Linked DNA regions of Homo sapiens: region 1 is linked to region 2. Evidence: promoter capture Hi-C in human tissues and cell types (Jung and others, 2019). All regions are on one chromosome and are shown on one strand. Each heading gives the region's core, a stretch centred on a gene start or on the middle of the fragment in contact. The rest is flanking DNA. Distances are from core to core; before and after follow the strand shown.

Evidence for each region. Contacts are between HindIII fragments. The study calls those that stand out against the background at their distance.
Region 1: a fragment that was not itself captured here is called in contact with the fragment with the promoter of SLC9A4 in region 2 in 1 of the 25 tissues and cell types used here (small bowel).

What each region holds. Positions count from the first base shown.
Region 1 is chr2:102,508,149-102,511,901 of GRCh38, forward strand. It overlaps SLC9A4 (solute carrier family 9 member A4), which reads left to right. Exons shown (of 12, transcript NM_001011552.4): 5 at 1-133; 6 at 699-785. Among named protein-coding and RNA genes, the nearest start is that of SLC9A4, 37 kb to the left of the region's middle. The HindIII fragment of the contact is 5,271 bases long and covers 1-3,753 here.
Region 2 is chr2:102,471,606-102,475,096 of GRCh38, forward strand. It overlaps SLC9A4 (solute carrier family 9 member A4), which reads left to right and starts at 1,621. Exons shown (of 12, transcript NM_001011552.4): 1 at 1,621-2,410. The coding sequence starts at 2,155. The HindIII fragment of the contact is 8,886 bases long and covers 1-3,491 here.

The DNA.
Region 1 (3,753 bases), core at 375-2,874, 37 kb after region 2:
CATTTTCTACAGTGGTGTTCGAGGAGCTGGAAGTTTTTCACTTGCATTTTTGCTTCCTCTGTCTCTTTTTCCTAGGAAGAAAATGTTTGTCACTGCTACTCTAGTAGTTATATACTTTACTGTATTTATTCAGGTAAGTAGATTTCCCTTATATTTAAATAAATAGGTTATTTCAGGACAATGTAGTAAATTAGTAAAATACAAATAAAGGCATTTTATCTGATTTTCAGATCTGTGCTCAATACCCAAACTAAATTTCCGGAGATTTCTAGATCATGTTTGTGACCATCCTTTAACTTCTAAAATGTATTGCCTTTTAATCAATACAGCATATTTATCAAAAGATTCCTGAGTAACAGGTGACTAATAGTCACTCCATATTTCTGAAAATGAGATTCCAATTAGTACTACGTAGCACAAGTTTTTGTTTTAGTTGGAGTTAGCTCTTAATGAACTAATGAAAGATTATTTTAATGGGTGAAACCAAATTCCTATATTAACATACAGGCATGATATCTATTTTTATTGCAGTACTTAAAGGAATGGAAAACTGAAATGAACATTGCAGCATTTACTCTGTAATAGCTAGTACAAAAACATATAGATTGGACATTCTAATAGTTTTGTTAATAAATTTGCTCTCTCTAGTGACAGTCTTCATTACAACAAAACCCTTTGTTTTGTTATTTCTGATCTAGGGAATCACAGTTGGCCCTCTGGTCAGGTACCTGGATGTTAAAAAAACCAATAAAAAAGAATCCATCAATGAAGAGCTTCATATTCGTGTAAGTTATCTCATAGTCACAATTAATAAATTAACAAGACATTTCCCCTTTGTCACCATGAGACATGTGCACGTGTCACTAGACTTCCTCTTTCCTTCCCCACTCTGCCAAGAGTGACTGTATAAGTTTCCTATGGCTGCTGTAGGAAATTGCCACAAACTTAGTGCTTAAAACAATGCAGATCTATTGTCTTATAGTTCTGGAGGTCGGAAGTTCAAAATCCAGTTGTTGCAGGGCTGCGCTCCTTTCTGGAGGCCCTGGGGAGAATCTGTTTCCTCACCTCCCACAGCTTCCAGAGGCTGCCTGTGTTCCTTGGCCCATGGCCCCTTCCATCTTCAGAGCCTGCAAAGGCTGCATCCCTCCAACAATGATCCTTCTGCCTCCCTCTTCCACACTGAAGGAGCTTTATGATCCCACTGCAGCCACGTGGATAGTTCAGGAGACTGTCTCCAGCTTAAGGTCAGCTGATTAGCAACCTTAAGTCCATCTGCCACTTAATCCTCCTTTAAACTAAACTACCATATTCACAAGTTCTGGGGATTAAGACATGGATATCTTTGCAAGGTCATTGTTCTCCCTACCACAGTCTGCCGTCTGTCTCCCAAAGATTCATATCTGTTCCACATGCAAAATATCTTCCTTCTATCCCAATACCCCAAAAGTCTCAATACACTGCATCATCAATTCAAAATCCAAAATATCATCTGAATCTTATCAGTTCAAAAATCCCAAATCTCAATATCTCCATCATCTAGAGCAGGGCTCAGTGAGGCTCTGGGTATAATCTATTCTGAGGCTCAGTTTCTCTTCATCTATGAATTTGCAAAACTCAGGAAACAAGTTATCTGCTCTTAAAATATATGGTAGGACACTCATTGAATAACAGTTGTAACTGTTGCCTTTCAAAAAACTATGGAGATAATGGAAGAAAAAAAGGAGTCATCGATACTAAGCAAACTTCAATGTTTCCTGGGCAAGCTCTATTTGGTTCCAAGGGCTGGGAATCCCCTAATCTCTTGCAACTCTTTGTTCCACCCTCTGGGTTCTCAATTTCACCCTCTGAATCATACTTCCTTTTTTTTTTTTTATAAAGGTAGCATAAATTTGCAGCTGAGTAATTTTATCAGTCTATTTCTTGCTTATAGAATTGTGAGGGTCCGACATCTTTCTTTCATTTTGTCCTCCTTTTTTGTCCAAGCTGGTGATGTTTCCATCAGGGTTCAACAGAGAAGCAGAGCCAGTAGGATGGATGGATATAGATATAGATAGATATAGATATAGATACAGATACGGATACGGATACAGATACAGATACAGATACAGATACAGATACAGATACAGATATAGATATAGATATAGATATAGATATAGATATAGGAAGAGATTTGTTGTAAGGAATTGTTTTTCACTAGTGTTAGGGCTGGCTAGGAAAGCCCAAAATCCAGGGGACAGGCCATCCAGAAGAGCAGGCTGGAACCCTCAGGCATGAGCCAAAGCTGCTGTCTACAAGTAGGATTTTTTCTTCATCAGGGAAGCCTCAGGCCTGTTCTTAAGACATTTCAACTGAATCAGTCCCACCCAGATTATCTGGGGTCATCTCCCTTAAGACAACTGATTATGGACTTTAATCAGATCTATAAAATACATTTACAGCAACATCTAGAGTACTGTTTGATTGAATAACCGGGGACTTGCCTGTCTAAATTGATACCTCAAAATACTATCACAGTGACTAACATTCAAAATTGTCCTGTTTGTTTCTAAAATCACCGTTCCAATGAAATATGGGGTCCTCTGCCCTTTTTGAATATAGGAGGGGCAAAGGGTATTACTTCTTTTGCAAACATGGCCGAGTGGCAGATTTTAGTGAAAACATCCCAGTCAGGCAAAGATGAATATGACACTGGGCATGGTTTCTATTTGTTTGTTCAAGTTCAGCACAACATTGAAGGGATACCACTGTGTACAGCTCCAAGGAATAGAAATGAGAACTAATGTCTGAAGGGTTATAGGTGGAGACTTCAACTCAGTTAATGAAAGAGCATTCTGACAATCATTTCCTGATTGGCACACCCGAAGCTGAAGTGGATGTGTCTAACCAGTGATTGGGAACATGTGGCATAGTTGCTGCACATGAGATTCAAGCTTTGAGGAGATAGTTGAACTTGAAAAATTTTAGGTTTCCTCTATCCCTGAGAATTCACCATTTTAATACTAGAGAAACTGATGAATGATGAAGTCTTCCAAAATCTACCCTAAAGTTCATGGTCAAAGTGACCTAGGAAATTTGGTTATTTAAATTCCAGGAAATCCTAATGAAAAATTTTCAAGGCCATTTGAAAATAATTAACAGATAAGGATAAGTAGTGACTGTTTTAAAACATGTAACAACTTAACATCTATCTTTATCTCCTATGATTTATTATTTCGACATATTGCATAATCCACCTAAGTCCATGGAACTTGGATATTTCACTCTTCTCTCATTTATTTTTCTTTTCCTCAAAAAAGTTATAATTTTTGGTAGAAGGTAGTGAATTAATTATTTAATAATTAATTTAATATTTCAAACTATTTTTCAAAACAAAATTCAGAAGCCAGTATAGACTTCAATAATTTCAAATTTAAAATATTTGGAGACTAATTTCATAATTATTTTGAAGATTGCACTTTTTCCTAAATTTCCATAAACAATTTGGGTTAAAACAAATGCAATATAATTTGCTTAAGTGGTCATATGTAATTACTCAGATCAAACGAGCATATTAAAATGAGAGATACTTTGTTATTCTATGTTATAGTAGAATATTAACAGAATTATATTTTCAGAAATTATATGATTGGATAACAGTGTGTTCTTTTCTTCTGCAATGAAATTAAAAGTAAGTTATTACAATTATTTAATAATATCTTAAATATGATATATTTTATTATTATTAATTATCCTCCGAGTGATTTCAGTAATGAG
Region 2 (3,491 bases), core at 371-2,870:
AAGATTGGCATTTTTACTCTGAGAGGGACTGGACTATCAGCCATCAGGTGATCATAAGGCTAAACGGGTTGCCATATACTCACAAAATTTGGAATTTTAGAGCAGGAAAGGGTTACCAGGTATGGACAGCATCTTTATTTTATAGATGAGAAAACTATAAAGGCTCAAACTATAAGGCTCAAACAGGTAATTTTCCAAAGCCAATCAGATAACTAATGTCTGAGTACATAAGTCTTTTGATTCTTCATTTTGGTCTTTCCACAAGGCACTATGTGAGACTTGCTCCCTCATTTCTTTTTAGAAAGAAAAGTACAATAAAATGCAAATAAAAATAAAACACCTATTATAAAGCAGCTTTCTATTAAAGGATATTCATATATTCTTTGAGAAAAAATAATCGACTCAATATGTGTACCCTTCTTGTAGTCCACCTGATAGTCTCATTTCAGTGACTGAATCTAATCTATTCTGGAGTCAAACTGAAGGAAAAAGAAAAAATATTCATATGTGAACTTTTAATTCTATTGCCTCACTATGAATTTGCATCTAGGTGTTAGCCCTTCTCAACCATTCCTTTCTCAATTTCCCAGTGATGTTAGCTGAGTGTGTGTGTGTGTGTGTGTGTGTGTGTGTGTGTGTGTGTGTGTGTGTTGGCTGGGGGGAAATCCCCTGCACTCACTAATATGAACTAAGAAAAAACAAAACACAAAGCATCTTGCAGTTTGATGTAAAAGAGATGTTGGGGTAGTATATGGATGATGTATTATTCTCATTTTTTACTGAGTATCAGTAATCATTGCAAAAGTGTTGTATCTTATCCTAAAAGTATAAGAAATGTAATTTAAAATAAAAACTAACATTTAAGTGCCAACTACATGCCAAATTCTTTACTTGCTTTATCTCATTTAATGTTCCTAGCTACTCAATGAGGCAGATATTTTCCTCTCTGTTTCAGATAAGGAATTTCTGAAAGGTAATTAACTTCACCAAGGTCACCTGGCAACAAGTAGAAGAGCGAGAAGTAGGCTCATAAAAATTATCTCAAAATTCTTTCATCAACATTCTATGATGCTGCTTCTTTTTAACAACAACAAATGTTTTTTAAATGGAAAATCTGGATGTGCCATGGAGTTTTACAAATCCAGGTATTTAGGTGTATTTATGGAACTTGTTCTTTGGCTTCCTGTTTTTTAAAAATTATAGTGTAAAGTTCATAGAGATCTGGAACTTCATTCCTTCTATGAATGACTGCTCATGGAGTCTGGTAACATGCAAAAGTTTCAGTGTTTGCTACCATCCTTGTTGTTACCACCTCCTTCTTATCCTCCTTCTTCCTCATGTATAGAGACCATATAAGACAGTTTGCTGGACAATTCTGGTTTGTGCCTATAGCTTTGCATAATTATCATTATTATTCATTCCCCAAAGTGTCCTGGTTTAGATAATTTCATGGTCACCTTAACGTTCATAACTGAAAGTGTCAAGGGTGTTGTATTGCAGGTGCCCACTAGGTGTCAGCAGTGTGACCTCCAGAGAACCCTCAGAGAAAGGATTTCATTACAAAAGTCAAATCAAAGCAAATAATTAAGTGTAGTTCCAGAGCTACCTGAAGCCGTGGTCATTCAAAACAAATGAGAGGACAGGGGGAGGAGAGAAGGAACAAGCGCAGATCAGGTAGCTCCTTCTTGGGATCTGATAGACAGGGAAGGTTTCCTTTCCTCATTAGAAGGACTCCAGTGATCTGTGGAATGAGCACTACAGTATCCTTTTAAATTTTCACCCACAAGACAAAGCCAGTATGCAGTGAAATGAGGAAATGCCTTTAAGTGAAGAGATTTTTATTTCTTTCATAAATTGCTCAAGCCATGATTGGATGGAGGTCCTCCAGGTAGCTCCATGGACTTTAACAAGTCTATTGAATAACTGCATTTGAGTTGGAAGCTGAGTTGCCTGAACACAAACGATTTAAACCAGATTAGAAAGTGTCTACATACAGAGCTCAATAACACACTCGGAATCTTCTTGGGAGGACCCACAGACTGTACCTATATTACTTTTGACCCAGGTGGATGCAGTCACTCTCTAGAAGCCTCCCCGACTTCAGATGTGTGGCACACATCCACACAGGGGTGTAGGTAGGAGAAGCCCACAGGAATGGCTCTGCAGATGTTCGTGACTTACAGTCCTTGGAATTGTTTGCTACTGCTAGTGGCTCTTGAGTGTTCTGAAGCATCTTCTGATTTGAATGAATCTGCAAATTCCACTGCTCAGTATGCATCTAACGCTTGGTTTGCTGCTGCCAGCTCAGAGCCAGAGGAAGGGATATCTGTTTTTGAACTGGATTATGACTATGTGCAAATTCCTTATGAGGTCACTCTCTGGATACTTCTAGCATCCCTTGCAAAAATAGGTAAGTCCTTAAACACCTGGTTTGGTGAGTTATCTTTTTACATAAGATAGTGAATGTGAAAATGCCTTATAGATAACGGGCTAAGAGGATTTTAACTGTTACTGCTATTACATTAAAAATTCTCTTCCCTTCAGTCAAGGGAAAGTCATAACTGCATTTTACTAAGCTATTTAATACTTTGAGATTGCTCTTTGAAATTTGAGAGCATACTTCTGGGTACTGGGCTGTGTTGGTTTCTTCTCATTTCAGGGTGACAACCATGTGACATTGTTGACATGCAAAACTCTCAAATTCTATGCTTTAAAAATATAGAGAATAAAGCACGTAGACCTGGGCATGATGCAAGGTGGAAATTTCAGGAAACACATAATGTTTCTTCTGTAAAATATTCTTGGCTGTGTAATTGTGGGCTTCATCAATCACCCCATTGTTTATTCTTTAAAAGTAGCGTGTGCTTCTTGCAAATTGACAGAAAGCAAAAAACAAGAAAACCATAGGCAACTTGTATTACTCAGTGATGGGATGTCGGGGCATATAAGATTATATCTGTCAGTAAAATATTAGTTTATACCTACCAAGTGGGGCCAGTGAGGCACCTCTAATTTCCTTTGTGAAATAAAGTGAATCCAAGTTAATAGATTAAATTCCAATCAAGGGATCTTTGTGTCAAAAACCAAAGAGGTGGCTATACTCTGTGACTGTTTAATCCCTAACTGCTCCTCCTTATCTCTTTAAAACCAGCTTATTCTAAAGTGGAAAATTAATATAATTATCTCAAATGCTAAGCACAATGCCTCCTTTGCCTCAGCTATAAACTTTATGCTATTTGAGTATGTAGATTGCCTTATTGAGATAGAATCAATGAAACATTTTAATTCTCATTTATTTATATGTGTATGTTTTCTCTAGGATGGGTGTGTAATGTGGGTTGAGCCTTGAGGTCTGGCAGTTACCTTCTGTGTGCTCTGGCTATTCACTTAGCTCCCTCCCTGTGGGTGTGGGGACACTGGTATAGGTGTCCCCTTTAGACTCTCCTTTATAGTTGCTATTCATTTTGAGCTAGTAAAGTGTGAATATTAAA